Regions from separate parts of the Homo sapiens genome. Here region 1 is linked to region 2. The links are contacts of gene promoters, found by promoter capture Hi-C in human tissues and cell types (Jung and others, 2019). All regions are on one chromosome and are shown on one strand. Each heading gives the region's core, a stretch centred on a gene start or on the middle of the fragment in contact. The rest is flanking DNA. Distances are from core to core; before and after follow the strand shown. Region 1 overlaps FBXO15 (F-box protein 15). Region 2 holds the start of CYB5A (cytochrome b5 type A).

What was found. The method cuts DNA at HindIII sites, captures the fragments that hold promoters and counts their contacts. A contact is called where the count stands out against the background at its distance.
Region 1: a fragment that was not itself captured here is called in contact with the fragment with the promoter of CYB5A in region 2 in 1 of the 25 tissues and cell types used here (dorsolateral prefrontal cortex).

Annotation. Positions count from the first base shown.
Region 1 is chr18:74,129,175-74,135,682 of GRCh38, reverse strand. It overlaps FBXO15 (F-box protein 15), which reads left to right. Exons shown (of 10, transcript NM_001142958.2): 4 at 5,025-5,267; 5 at 6,069-6,278. Among named protein-coding and RNA genes, the nearest start is that of FBXO15, 15 kb to the left of the region's middle. The HindIII fragment of the contact is 3,921 bases long and covers 2,693-6,508 here.
Region 2 is chr18:74,289,337-74,295,836 of GRCh38, reverse strand. It overlaps CYB5A (cytochrome b5 type A), which reads left to right and starts at 3,874. Exons shown (of 5, transcript NM_148923.4): 1 at 3,874-4,090. The coding sequence starts at 3,962. RefSeq lists enhancers at 2,786-2,955, 3,315-3,374, 3,664-3,833, 3,913-4,082, 4,688-5,295. The HindIII fragment of the contact is 8,147 bases long and covers 1-4,076 here.

The sequences.
Region 1 (6,508 bases), core at 3,404-5,903, 160 kb after region 2:
TTTTAAGAATTTAAGAGAATTCAAGAGTATTTTTACACACAAGTGGAAATGTCAAATGCTTTAACTATGAAATTTTCAAATATTTGCATTTATATGCTTAAAGGAATATACTTTGCATGGAACAAAAAAATCAAACTTGTTATTGCTGTAGCTGTTACAGAATGCAGCTTCAGGTCTGTTGCCAGGAGGTCTTCGCTGTATTCCCCACAGAATCAGACCTAACCACAGAGTCTCAAGCAGCACTGCAGGGACCTGCTGGCTTTGACCCTAGCCGTGCATTCGCAGAGCAGAATGAGTGCTCTCTGCTGATGGCCAAGCAGATCCTAAAGAAAGAGAAGGAAGAGACTAAGTTAGGTGTACTTAGCTTCTCCTCCCAAACATGCCAATCAAGTTAACTTACTCTGTGGGGAGAGCGAAATGGATAGAGAGAGGCCAAGACTGTCCTCTCCTAGAGGTTGTACGCTTGGATGAAGGGAGCCAAAAGAGAGGGGTTCACCTGTGGTCATCTGGTCTTGCAGGGGGTGGATCTAGGAAGGAAGGGGAGAAACCTCTGCTTCTGTTTGTCACTATAATCTTAGCCTGCATCTCAGAATTGTATCTTGGAGGGAGAGATGGTGGAATCCTCCTTTCAGTGAGGATTTCGTGGCTTACAACAGAACATCTTGGCTTTTTAGGCCCCTCTCTCATTTAGCATCAAAAGATCAGACAAACATCATTCCTACATAGAACCTGCATGTCAGCTGGGGAGATCAGCAAGATGAGAGGGAATGCCGGTTTTAACTGATGGTTTTGTTTGCTAGGTAAGGAGACGGAGAGTGGCAGAATGAGAGCTGTCATATTAGTTAACCCTGGAACATGGTGGACAAGAATGTCATTTAGTGCAGTGGTTCTCAGATGCCATCCAGGGAAGACTACATATGAACCACCTGGGAAAGTTTAAAACATTTCCATCCCTAGTCTGCATTTCTAGGGATTATAATTTAGTGCTCTGAAATCTGTATTTTAAAAATTCTCCAGCCAGGCGCAGTGGCTCACACCTGTAATCCCAGCACTTTGGGAGGCCGAGGCGGGCGGATCACGAGGTCAGGAGATCGAGACCATCCTGGCTAACACGGTGAAACCCCGTCTCTACTAAAAATACAAAAAATTAGCTGGGCATGGTGGCAGGCGCCTGTAGTCCCAGCTACTTGGGAGGCTGAGGCCGGAGAGTGGCATGAACCTGGGAGGCGGAGCTTGCAGTGAGCTGAGATCGCCACTGCACTCTAGCCTGGGTGACAGAGCGAGACTCCATCTCAAAAAAAAAAAAAAAAAAAAAATTCTCCAGGTCATACTAATGAATAGTCAAGTTCCGAAATAACTAATCTAGTCCATCTTTGTTGTTAGGTGTATGCCACTTAAGTGAGGAACTCAGAATAAGCCCTCAGATCTCATTAAAGCTGTCCTCAACCATTGTCATACTCTGAAGAGGACATACACTGTTCCCTAGTTGGAAAGGGTGATTTTTCTTTTAATTTAAAGAGATGTTTCCTATATGGAAGAATATATGTATGTCTATGTCAATACATGCACACACACACAAACACACACATACACATATCAATGAATGAACTAATAATGTTCTTCACAGTAGTTATAGAATGAATTAGAGCAATTTCTACATTTCCCTTCCTTAATGATTGTTGTAGTTTACGTAGTTGAGATTTGTTTGTTTCCCCAAGCCTCATGTTGAAATTTGATCCCCAGTGTTGGAAGTGGGGCCTAATGGGAGTCATCTGGGTCATGGGAACAGATCCCTCCTGAATGGCTTGGTGCCTTCCTTGTAGTTCTTGCTCTAGAGCTGGTTGTTTAAAAGAGCCTGGCAGACCTCCCTTCCTTCTCTCTTGCTCACTCACTCTATTTCTCTCTCTCTGCCGTGTGATCTCTGCACAGTTGGCTCGCCTTGGTTTTCTGCCACGTGTAGAAGCTTCCTGAGGCTTCACCAGAGGCAGATGCTGGTGTTGTGCTCCTTGTATAGCCTGCAGAACTATGAGCCAAATAAACCTCTTTCCTTTGCAGATTACCCAGCCTCAAGTATTCCTTTGTAGCAACACAAAGAGACTATGACAATGATCTAATAAGAGATGAAGGTGGTCACTAAAAGAAAGCACAGCAAGGCATTTTTCAAGGAAGGAGTCAACCAAATATCTAAAACTAGCATTCTGGAGGGTTCCCACTTTATTTAAGGGTAGAACTCAGACTCTTCAGATAAGCTGATACATTGTATATTTCTTAGTTTCTTTACTGTCTTCTCTCTCCACTTCACCTGCATGGTGAAGAAACCAGGCCTGGAATCAGATTTGGAGCATGGCTCTAGTGATGTTTTTTGCATACTTTTAGTATTATTTGTGTGCCCTCCTCACTTTCTTGGAAGTTGCCGTTTGGAAATATGAGCTACTGATGAAATTGCACTCACATTTCTTTTCTTTTTCAAAAGACATATTTAATTGTGCTAAGTTGAATTGCACTTTTTAGGTCCTGTTAAAGGACCTAAAGAGTCATAGTCTGACTCTTAAAGTCAACGTCTGATCATGAAGTCAGACTACAGAAAAGGATGTGTGATAATTGAACAAGTAATCAATATGTGTTTTTGAAAAGTTTACAGTGTATTCTAAGCGTTACTTCTGAAGAGAGGGCAAGCACACATAGTGTAGTGAGTTACACTGATGACTTATGGGCAGGCACACTTGAAGGGCAGGGGGCTCCCCAGTGCCCCATCCCAGCAGCGGGGCTACTCCCTTCTGTGTGAGCCCTGTCTCTGCGTGAGAAAAACAGGGGTGTGTGGATGAGGTGACATCTGGTTTATCACAAGGGGGTTTTATTTGCCATGTACTCTGGCAAACACTATTTATCTGAACATTAAATTGGCCCCATTTTCTAAACAACTTGTTTGAGTTTCCCTGAGCCTGTTGGTAGTTCTGTTGGATAAATATGCCCTCGTCCTCGAATCTGACTAGGCCTTCTAACAGGATGGAGCATTTGGGGATCAAGAAGTAAATGTGTTTGGAGACTGTGAAAGGTATCTGAACCTTAACATTTGTATATTATAAAAAATCAAGGGGAACCATCTGCAATATAAAATGTTTTCACTTAGGTTCACTTACGGTAAGTAATATATGATCATGTATGTGAACATAGTTCATCATACGAATGTTAGTTGTGGTTATGGTTACTCACTGCATGTGGAGTTTATGCTGTGATTCCCATCTCTGCGGCAGTGTTTGTTTTTGCAGTTGGTAAGTGCTAACACATGTAAAAATAGTATCAGAGGTTGTTTAGATAGTGCTGATGTGAGGAATTCAAGGCTCCATAAAGGTCCTGCTAAAGGAATACTTACATAGGGTGAGATGCTGAATAAAATAAATGTGAAGAAAACACAAGCAAGCTTTTATGCAAAGGGAGTTTTAAAAGTGTCTATTCAAAGGATTTTGGTGAAACAGTTTCAGCTTTACTTAAATGTACTCAACTCATCATCGCATTGCATCTGTCCGCTTACATAGGAAAGTCTAGAAATTTCTGAATTGAAAACACAAACACTTTAATATAAAAGCTAGGCATGAAGTGATTTTGCAGAGTGAGAAATGACTGAGAAACCCACACTAGGAAGAGAATTCAACCAGGGTCTGACTGTATGTGAGCTTGCATTTGTTGGGAAGTCCATGTAATGTCTGAGTCAAGGAGGTGGTGTTCCAAAGTCACGTGTTTGAGAAATGGTCCTTTTCTGCTGTGGTTAAGGAAATAGCTCTGCCTCCCCAGAGCACCCAGTTATCCCCAGGGGTCCTGCTGCAGTTCAGGACCACTGCTCTGTGGGGGAATCGCTTTTTCCTTGCAGCCTCCAGGCCGTTGACTGCTTCATCCCATGCTGCTCTGAGTAGTAATGTGGAGACCTAAATGAGCAAATCATTAATGTTTAAAATGCAAAGTTTGCCTTTCAGATAAGGAATTGATTTTAACCGCTGCCTCAGTTTTCCCTGTGTCTTCCTTCTCTTTCCTGGTGGAGAGTACTGGCTGAGAGGGAGGAGCTCTCAGGCCAGCTCACTGCCACCACTCGTGGGGCTTCTCCTGCCCTCTTAGTAGAGATGAGTGGAAGGAACAGACTTTGAGTCAGAGCTGAATTTGAATTCCAACATTGAGGCTTATTGGCTCTCTGAATTTGGGGAGCTTATTCAGTTTCTTTGACCCATTTCTTTGTGATTGAAGAGGCAGTGAAACCCAGGTGATAAGAGTGTGAGCTCTGGTTCCGATCCCAGCTTCACTATACACTTGAGTGCACAGACCTGGGCCAGCTCACCTTGCATCTGAGCCTCAGTTACAGCATCTATGCAGTGGGGACAGGAATACCAGCACCTCCTGGTTTCTTTCTGAGGAATAAATGAGTCATGTATAATACATAAAGTGGTTAAACGATGCTTGACACATAGTAAGTGTTGACAAAATTTAATGTTAACTATTGTTTAGTTGTTACCATTAAAAACCTTCACTTTTTTTCTCTTTGTGAAAGCGTATTCCTTGTTGAAAGTTAAAAAATAGCAAAAAGAGTGTTCAATTCCATTGTTCCCTATTGAAATTTCTTGGTGTGTGTACATACATCCTTTCTGATCTTTTTAAAAGCATGTATGTATTTAAAAACAAGAATCATACTACATATACTTTCTGTTATGTTTAAATAATATATTTCCTATTCCATTACTGGTATAAGAGGGCAGTCGTTTGGATGATCCTAAATAACGTGAGATTACTCACTTGAGACCTGACCCTGGGAAATGGGCTTTTCCTTTTTTTAAAATGTGTTTTTGGTGGTGTTGAATTTAAAACACTAAATCTCAAACTGCAATTCACTTTAACAGATGAACGTTCAACTGTAAATATTCAGCTTGGCTTATTCATGGAATTGGATTATTTGAAAATATGCATCTCTAATTTGATATATTATGACTAAGGTAGGTGACAGTGTCTCTTAGTTAACATATTTCCTCTTTTCCCTCCAGTTTTATTTGGATCGGAATCTACTCAACTGCTTTTTCACCTGCAAGATCAAATTGGAAATTTAATTCAGTAGAGAAGATAGCTATGTCTATGAGCTTTCTGTCAGTTCAGGATAAAGAAGCTGGTTATTGGAAGAAAGAATATATCACAAAACAAATAGCATCTGTAAAAGCCGCACTAGCTGACATTCTCAAACCTGTCAACCCTTACACAGGCCTTCCAGTTAAGACCAAAGAGGCCCTCAGGTACGCAGTGTGTTCCAAAAGAGAATGATGGCATCAGCTCAAAGTATCGTGTACGTAGGACGTATGTGCAGTTTAGATTGTGTGGGACTGTCTCTAGTATTTTTGTGTGTTTTGTGCATCTATAAAATATGTATCATTTTCCTATTCCGCATAGCCTTCTGCATCTGCTGATTCAACCAACTGCAGATCAGAAATATTAGTGGGGGGGAACTTGAAACAATAATAACAGTATAAAAAAGAATACAAATAAAACCAGTACATTATACATAATAACAACAGTTTGCACAGCATTTACATTGTATTAGGTATTATAAGTAATCTCAAGATGATTTAAAGAATACGGGAGGAGGTGCATAGGTTATATGCACATACTATGCCATTTATATAAGGGACTTGAACGTCCACAGATTTTGGTATCATGGGGTTCCTAGAACCAATTTCTTGCGGAGACAGAGGGATAACTAGTAAGTAGCCTAAAGTTTTAATGAAAAGCAGAAGTAACCTACTTATCTGCTATAGTACAATAAGAATGTTCAAGGTCTCTTTTCTGGGCAGAACCTTTGTCTTATTTATATATTGCCAGTACCTGGAAAATCATGGATGTTCAGTGGGTGTTAGGTGAGGAGAAAAAGTCTAAAGAGAGTACTATTGTTGAAGTGAAAATTATACTGGGCACATTCTGAGAATTTTGACTTTGGCTTTTAAGGAACTAGATGCTTTAGAGAAGATACATGAAATTGCCTTTAGCATTTTTTTTTTTTCAATGAGGCAAACATTGTTAGTTTTTTTTTCTTTCTCCAGAATATTTGGTTTAGGTTGGGCAATTATACTGAAAGAAAAAGGTGGAAAAGAATATATCATGGAGCATGTTGATCTTTCCATAAATGACACATCAGTTACTGTTATATGGTATGGCAAAAAATGGCCATGCCTAGCATCATTGTCAACCTTAGATTTATGTGGCATGACACCAGTTTTTACCGACTGGTATAAAACTCCCACCAAACATAGGTAAGTACCAATCAGCAGAACTGTTGAGTGAGAGCATCTTATATGTAAATATTAGTTGGCATTACTTTTGTAATTAAAAAATAAGAGCAGCGTTTTTTAATTTTATCACATATTAAATGTACATTCTGCATTAATGCAGAAGAGGAAAAGAGTGCATTTTATCACATTTCTGATTAGGTCTAAATTTAACTTCCTCGTATCTTGGGGTTGTCTTTAATGGTAAAGAATGA
Region 2 (6,500 bases), core at 2,625-5,124:
GAAGGAAAGGAGTTGTTTTGTAGAAGGGGTTGGGGTTTGGGAGATTAGCTGGACATGATTAGCAGGGAGAGCACATGTATTTTTATGAAGAATTATGCCGAGATAGGTAACGGATGAGGAAGAAATTTGGGCTTGACTGAAGTAATGGGGGCTGTCCCTGAAGCCTTGCGCCAGTACAGCCCAGGTAAGTTGCTGAGGCTGATGGGTGTCAGGGTCAGTCTAAGTGAAAGCGAAGAGAGGCTGGGATGAAAGGTGCAAAGGAATAGTAAAGAAAGCATGTTTGAGATCCAGAACAGAATGGGTTATGGAGGGGTAAAATGGGGGAATTGTAAGGAGAGTTTATAGGCTTTATAAGGCCATGCTGTAACAAGTGAGTGATAACAGGCTTTAATTCTTTTAAAGCGTGCTGTGGGATGGGATATTGGTGTTGAGCAGGGTAAGGGTGATTAGGTTTTAATGGGATGGTAAGGGGTGCATGATCAGTTGCCAAGGAGGGAGTAGAGATGTCTCATACTTGTGGATTAAGGTGAGGAGATACAAGGAAAATATGTGAAGGAGGCTTTGAACTGGGAAAAAGGGTGACAATGAGGTGTGGCTGTAGCCTAGGAATAGTCAGGGAAGCAGATAATTTAGTTAAAATGCCTCGACCTAATAAGGGAACTGGGCAGGCGGGAATAACTAAAAAGGAGCGCATAAAAGAATACTGTCCCAGTTGGCACCAGAATTGGGGAGTTTTAAGAGGTTTAGAAGCCTGGCCGTCAATACCCACAACTGTTATGGAGGCAAGGGAAAGAGGCCCTTGAAAAGAAGGTAATGTGCAGTGGATAGCCTCCGTATTAAGAAGGGGATGGACTCATCCTCCACTGTAAGAGTTACCTAAAGCATCTATCATGGTCCAGGAGGCTTCCAAGGCGATCGGGCAGTGTCAGTCTTCAGCCACTAAGCCGAGAAGATCTGGGAAGGAGTCAGTCAGTGAGCCTTGCGCCAGAGTTCCAGGAACTCTAGGAATGGCTGCCAGGTGAGTTGGACAGTCCAATTTCCAGTGGGGTCCTGCACAGATGGGACATTGCTTAGGAGGAATCCGGGCTGCAGACATTCCTTGGCCCAGTGGCCACATTTTCAGTACTTGAAGCAAGATCCTGGGGTAGGAGGTCTTGGAAGAACGCCTGGCCACTGCGGTTTAGGCGTTTTGAAATTCTTGTATGCTGGAGATGTGGCTGAAGTTTCTCTCACAGCAGAGGCAAGTAATTGCCACTCTTCTCTATTATTGTACACCTTGAAGGCAAGGTTAAGTCCTGTTGTGGGGTTTGAGGGCTGGAATCCAATTTTTGGAGCTTTTTCTAACGTCAGGAGTGGGTTGGGTAATAAAATGCATACTGAGAATAAGACGGCCTTCTGGCCTCTCTGGGTCTAGGGCGGTAAGGCGTTTAAGGGTTGTTGCCAAACGGGCCATGAACTGGGCTGGGGTTTTATATTTGATGAAAAAGAGCCTAACTGTTTTGGGAGAGGTCGGATAAAGAAAACAGGAGCAACAACCTTGACTATGCCTTTAGCTCCAGCCACCTCTTTAAGAGGAAATTGTTGGGCAGGTGGGGTAGGGCTAGTCAAGGAACAAAACCATAAGCCGGACTAGGTGTGAGGAGGGGAAGTGATAGAAGGATTATAGAGTGGGGGAACAGAGGCTGCGGAAGAATTGGGACCTGGCTCAGCCCGGCGAGCAGGGGAGAGGTCAGATGGCTCCACAGAAAAGGAGGATTCAAAGTACTCAGAGCTTGGGGTGGAGACCGAAGGAACACACAGGAGAGAAAGAAGAAAGATTTGGGATGAGTCGCATTGGGAGCAGAGACTAGGGCGGGACTGATGTGTAGAAGAATGCCTGGATGTCAGGAACCTCAGACCATTTGCCCATTTTACGACAAGAATTATCTAGATCTTGTAGGGTGGAGAAATTGAAAGTGCCATTTTCTGGCTATTTGGAACCACTGTCAAGTTTGTATTGGGGTCAGGTGGTATTGCAGAAGAAAATAAGGTGTTTAGGTTTTAGGTCAGGCGAGAGTTGAAGAGGTTTTAAGTTCTTGAGAACACAGGCTAAGGGAGAAGAAGGAGGAATGGAGGGTGGAAGGTTGCCCATAGTGAAGGAGGCAAGCCCAGAGAAAAGAGAGGGCAGAGACACAGGGGGGGTCGGTACTTGACACCAAGGTGAAGGATCAAGGCAGGTGTCCCTGTGGTGATCAGACACCTCTGAAATGTGGGTGAATAATCAGGCAGGCATCCCTGCAGTGATTAAACACCAAGGGAAGACTGTCTTCTCGAGTCCGTGACCAGTGCCGGAGTTTTGGGTTCACGGATAAAACACATCTCCTCTGTCTCTATCAGAAAAGGAAAGGAACTGAAATTAAGGGAAGGGATAGATTGAAGGGTGGTGCCAAAATTGAAAGGAGAAAGAGGTTGAGAGATAGTGAGAGAGGTTGGAGAAGAGAGTAAAAAGAAGCTGCTTACCCAATTTAAAATTGGTGAGATGTTCCTGGAGCTGGTTGGTCTGAGGACCCGAGGTTGTAGGTGGATCTTTCTCACAGAGCAAAGAGCAGGAGGACAGGTGACTGTCTTATCAGTTAAGGCAGGAACCGGCCATTTTCACTTCTTTTGTGATTCTTCAGTTGCTTCAGCATTTTCACTTCTTTTGTGATTCTTCAGTTGCTTCAGGCCATCTGGATGTATATGTGCAGGCTTGGGCTCAGAGGCCTGACATGCGTGTGTTTTGTGTTTTTCTGGATAGGCATGCATTCCTATGGAGGAGGTAAGCAGGGGGAAGGGAGCTCACATTCATCAGACACCTAGTATGTGTAGGAACCTTCTGCATCCCTGGAAGGATGGATGACCCCACATGTGAAACCTCTCGTGTGGTTCTTTTTGGAATTAACTACCATTGCTGAAAAGGGCCTACATAAAATATCAAATTTTAACATGCTGGAATTTTTCTTTATTTTTTTTCTCCTTCAAACATTTGTAGCTCTTTATATGTGGTATTTCCTCTGTGTCAGAAGGGAAAGAGGGTGCCCTTTGGGGAAGTTCTCTTCCAGACTCCTAGAAGAGAATCTGATTTACCTTAAATGCACAAACAAGGCCTTGCCATGTCACTGGCCAACCGCAGACAAACTACTTCAGTCACAGAAATAATTTGGACACTTTTGCTTTTTAAGGAAAAGATGATTTCCCTGGATTTTTTTCCTGTGAGGACGAGGCATTCCAAAACCCCAGCGGGGTCAGGCACAGTTCGCCAACTTTATGTTTTGGGGGGCAGCGCATTTGCTTCCCGAAGTGAGTTGCGAAACCGTTTTCTAGCGCGCACGGGGCTTTCATCTCTTCCGTGCATGCGAACGGCTTTCCGAGATGCCCCCTTTATGGGCTTGGCCATCGCTACTTTTGTTACAAATTAACGTCTGGGACTCGGACTGCTGCCAATAGGAAACTCCCGCGATTCGCTGCCTAGTTCGCCGCCCTCACAAGACTGGACTCTGCACAGGCCATCCATGCCCGCTGGTGCACCTCGCTCTCTCGCACGCTTAACCCGCGGGGACGCCCCCGACCTCCCACCTCAGCCCTCGCCACAGTTAGTCCCGCCCTTCCGCGCAGACTCCGTGGAGTCCTGTCACGCTCTCCGCGCGCTGCGGCAGCCGGGAGATTGTGAAGGGCACCTCCGGCAGCCAATTAACACCCGCATACTGGGCGGGACCACGCTTGGGCAGGCGGAGGGGGTCGACCGAAGGCGGGGACTTTTGAGTGACAAGGATGATGGCCAACCGTCGGAGGCCCTTCTACTGCGCCCCGCCCCTGAGCCGGCCGCCCAGCCCCCAGTGGGGTTCCCGGCGCGGGGAATGTCCCGGGTGGAGCTGGCTGAGTCGCGCGCTCTGCTCCACCCGACGGGGCTGTGTGTGCTGGGCCTGGCTCGCGGCGAACCGAGATGGCAGAGCAGTCGGACGAGGCCGTGAAGTACTACACCCTAGAGGAGATTCAGAAGCACAACCACAGCAAGAGCACCTGGCTGATCCTGCACCACAAGGTGTACGATTTGACCAAATTTCTGGAAGAGGTGAGTTGGGGATGAGCGGCTTGGGGCGCAGGGAGCGTGGGCCGGGTTTGGGGGTTCACTGGCATGACCTGTCTTTCGCGGCCCGGAGTCCGCATACCTACGCCTAGGCGCGCCCCCCGAGTTCGCTCACCTGCGCGTGTACGCCTGGGCGCGCTTCCGAGTCCGCACACCTGCGCGTGCAAGCCTGGGCGCCCCCCACCGCCCCAAGTCCGCACACCTGCGCGCTCACACCTGGGAGCGCTCCCCGAGTCCGCACACCTGCTAGTGTACACCTGGGCGCTCTCCTCGAGTCCGCACACCTGCGCGTGCACACCTGGGGAGCGCTCCCTGAGTCCGCACACCTGCGCGTGTACACCTGGGAGCGCTCCCCGAATCCGTACACCTGCGCGTGCACACCTGGGAGCGCCCTGCGCGGCGGCATCCTCGCTAGGTGGTGCTGGAGCAGCCTTCCGGGGATAGCGCGCAGCCATGCGGGGGATTTAAATGATCCCTTTCTCCCTTGAGTTTGAATAGAAGGGTGTCCTTCCAGGACCGGCGGCATTCCCGCAGTGGCCGGCTGGAGACCACCCACCCCGAGAGCTGCGGATCCCGCCGGAGGGGACCCCAAGTGCGGAGGTCGGGTGTGGTCCGGGCCTGCGCTTCCCGCGGCAGCCACTGGCCGACCTTGCGGTCCACACCCACTCGCGTTCGCGTTCACCTGGAAGAGGCTCGGTGTTAATTAACCTTTTCCAGTCACGCCTTGGCAGCCAGGTGCCGTGCTTGACTCCTGAGACCGCGGTGTGTGGCTGGAGCAAGAACACAGAGGCCAGGCAGAGCAGCGGACGTTCTGCGTGGGACTCGCCCCTAACAGCTTTGGAAGGTGTAATAGGAAACGTTGGTTAACTTGAAGACATTCCTTTGATAAGATTCTTTGCATTCGGTTATAATTTTTGCCGCACACGCTAAGGGGCGCTTTTGGTGATTGTCTTAGATCCTCTGGAAGTGTTTTACTACTTTTGGGGGAGTCTCAATCATAAATCTTAACGCATGCTCACGCCCCCTCCCAATAATGAGAAGGTTTAGTGATGGGAATTTTTTACATAGTCGGGGAGCAGGGGACAAAAATAGATGCCTGGTCTGAGCTGGATCACAGTTTATATCAGAGGACTTTGTTTTTGCAGAAAATGTTAAAATCAAAAGGCCTGTTTTAAAAAATGAGGCTGGGCCAAGCACGGTGGCTCACACATGTAATCCCAGCACTTTGGGAGGCTGAGGCGGGTGGATCACTTGAGTCTAGGAGTTCGAGACCAGCTTGACCAACATGGCGAAACCCCATCTCTAACCAAAATACCAAAATTAGCCAGGCCTGGCGGGGCACGCCTGTAGTCCCAGCTACTCGGGAGGCTGAGACAGGAGAATCCCTTAAACCTGGGAGGCAGAGGTTGCAGTGAGCCGAAATCGCACCACTTTGCTCCAGCCTGGGGGACAGAGTGAGACTCTGTCTCTAAATAAATAAATAAAATTAAATAATAAGGCTGGAGTTGATGTTTATTGGTAAGGTATTTCACTCTGGAGCAGTGCCCGAAGATAAAGTCATGTTACCATTTAGTAAGGAGGGGTTTATGTTGGGAAATCAGAGCTGACCTGTCCTCTCCCTCCTGCCCGGCTGCAGATCTTGTCATATAACATCAATTCTCATTAACTCTAAATGTGGAATTTTAAGATACAGTGTGTGCTTTGTCTATTTGTGCTTATAGAAGAAGTAGCATAAGAGAATATTAGGATATTTTATATTATGAAGCATTTTCTTCTTTTCTTGTCTTCTCCTAAAGCGAGTTTTTTCAACCCTGGCACTGTTGACATTTTGGGCCAGCCGATCTTTGTTGTGGCGTCTGTCCTGGGCATTGTAGGATATTGAGCCACCTCCCTGAGTTCTACCCACTAGATGACCGGTACCACCACCTCCCCTATTTTTTTTTTTTTTTTTTTTTGAGACAGAGTTTTGCTCTTGTGGCCCAGGCTGGAGTGCAATGGTGTGATCTCGACTCACTGCAACCTCTGCCTCCTGGGTTCAACCAATTCTCCTGCCTCAGCCTCCCAAGTAGCTGGGATTACAGGCGCACACCATCACGCCCAGCTAATTTTTGTATTTTTAATAGAGACAGGGTTTCAACATGTTGGCCAAGTTGGTCTCGAACTGCTGATCTCAGGTGATCCACCCACCTTAGCCTCCCAAAGTGCTGGGATTACAGGCGTGAGCCACTGCTCCCAGCCCTACCTCCCCTATTTATAGCAACCCAAAATGTCTCCAGATATTGCCAGAGGTCCCCTAGGGCACATAATCTCTCCAACTTGAGAATTACTAAGGTTACTGTGCATGACTTTAGGGGTAGATTTTCAGAGACGATAATAGGGAAGTGAAGATTATTGT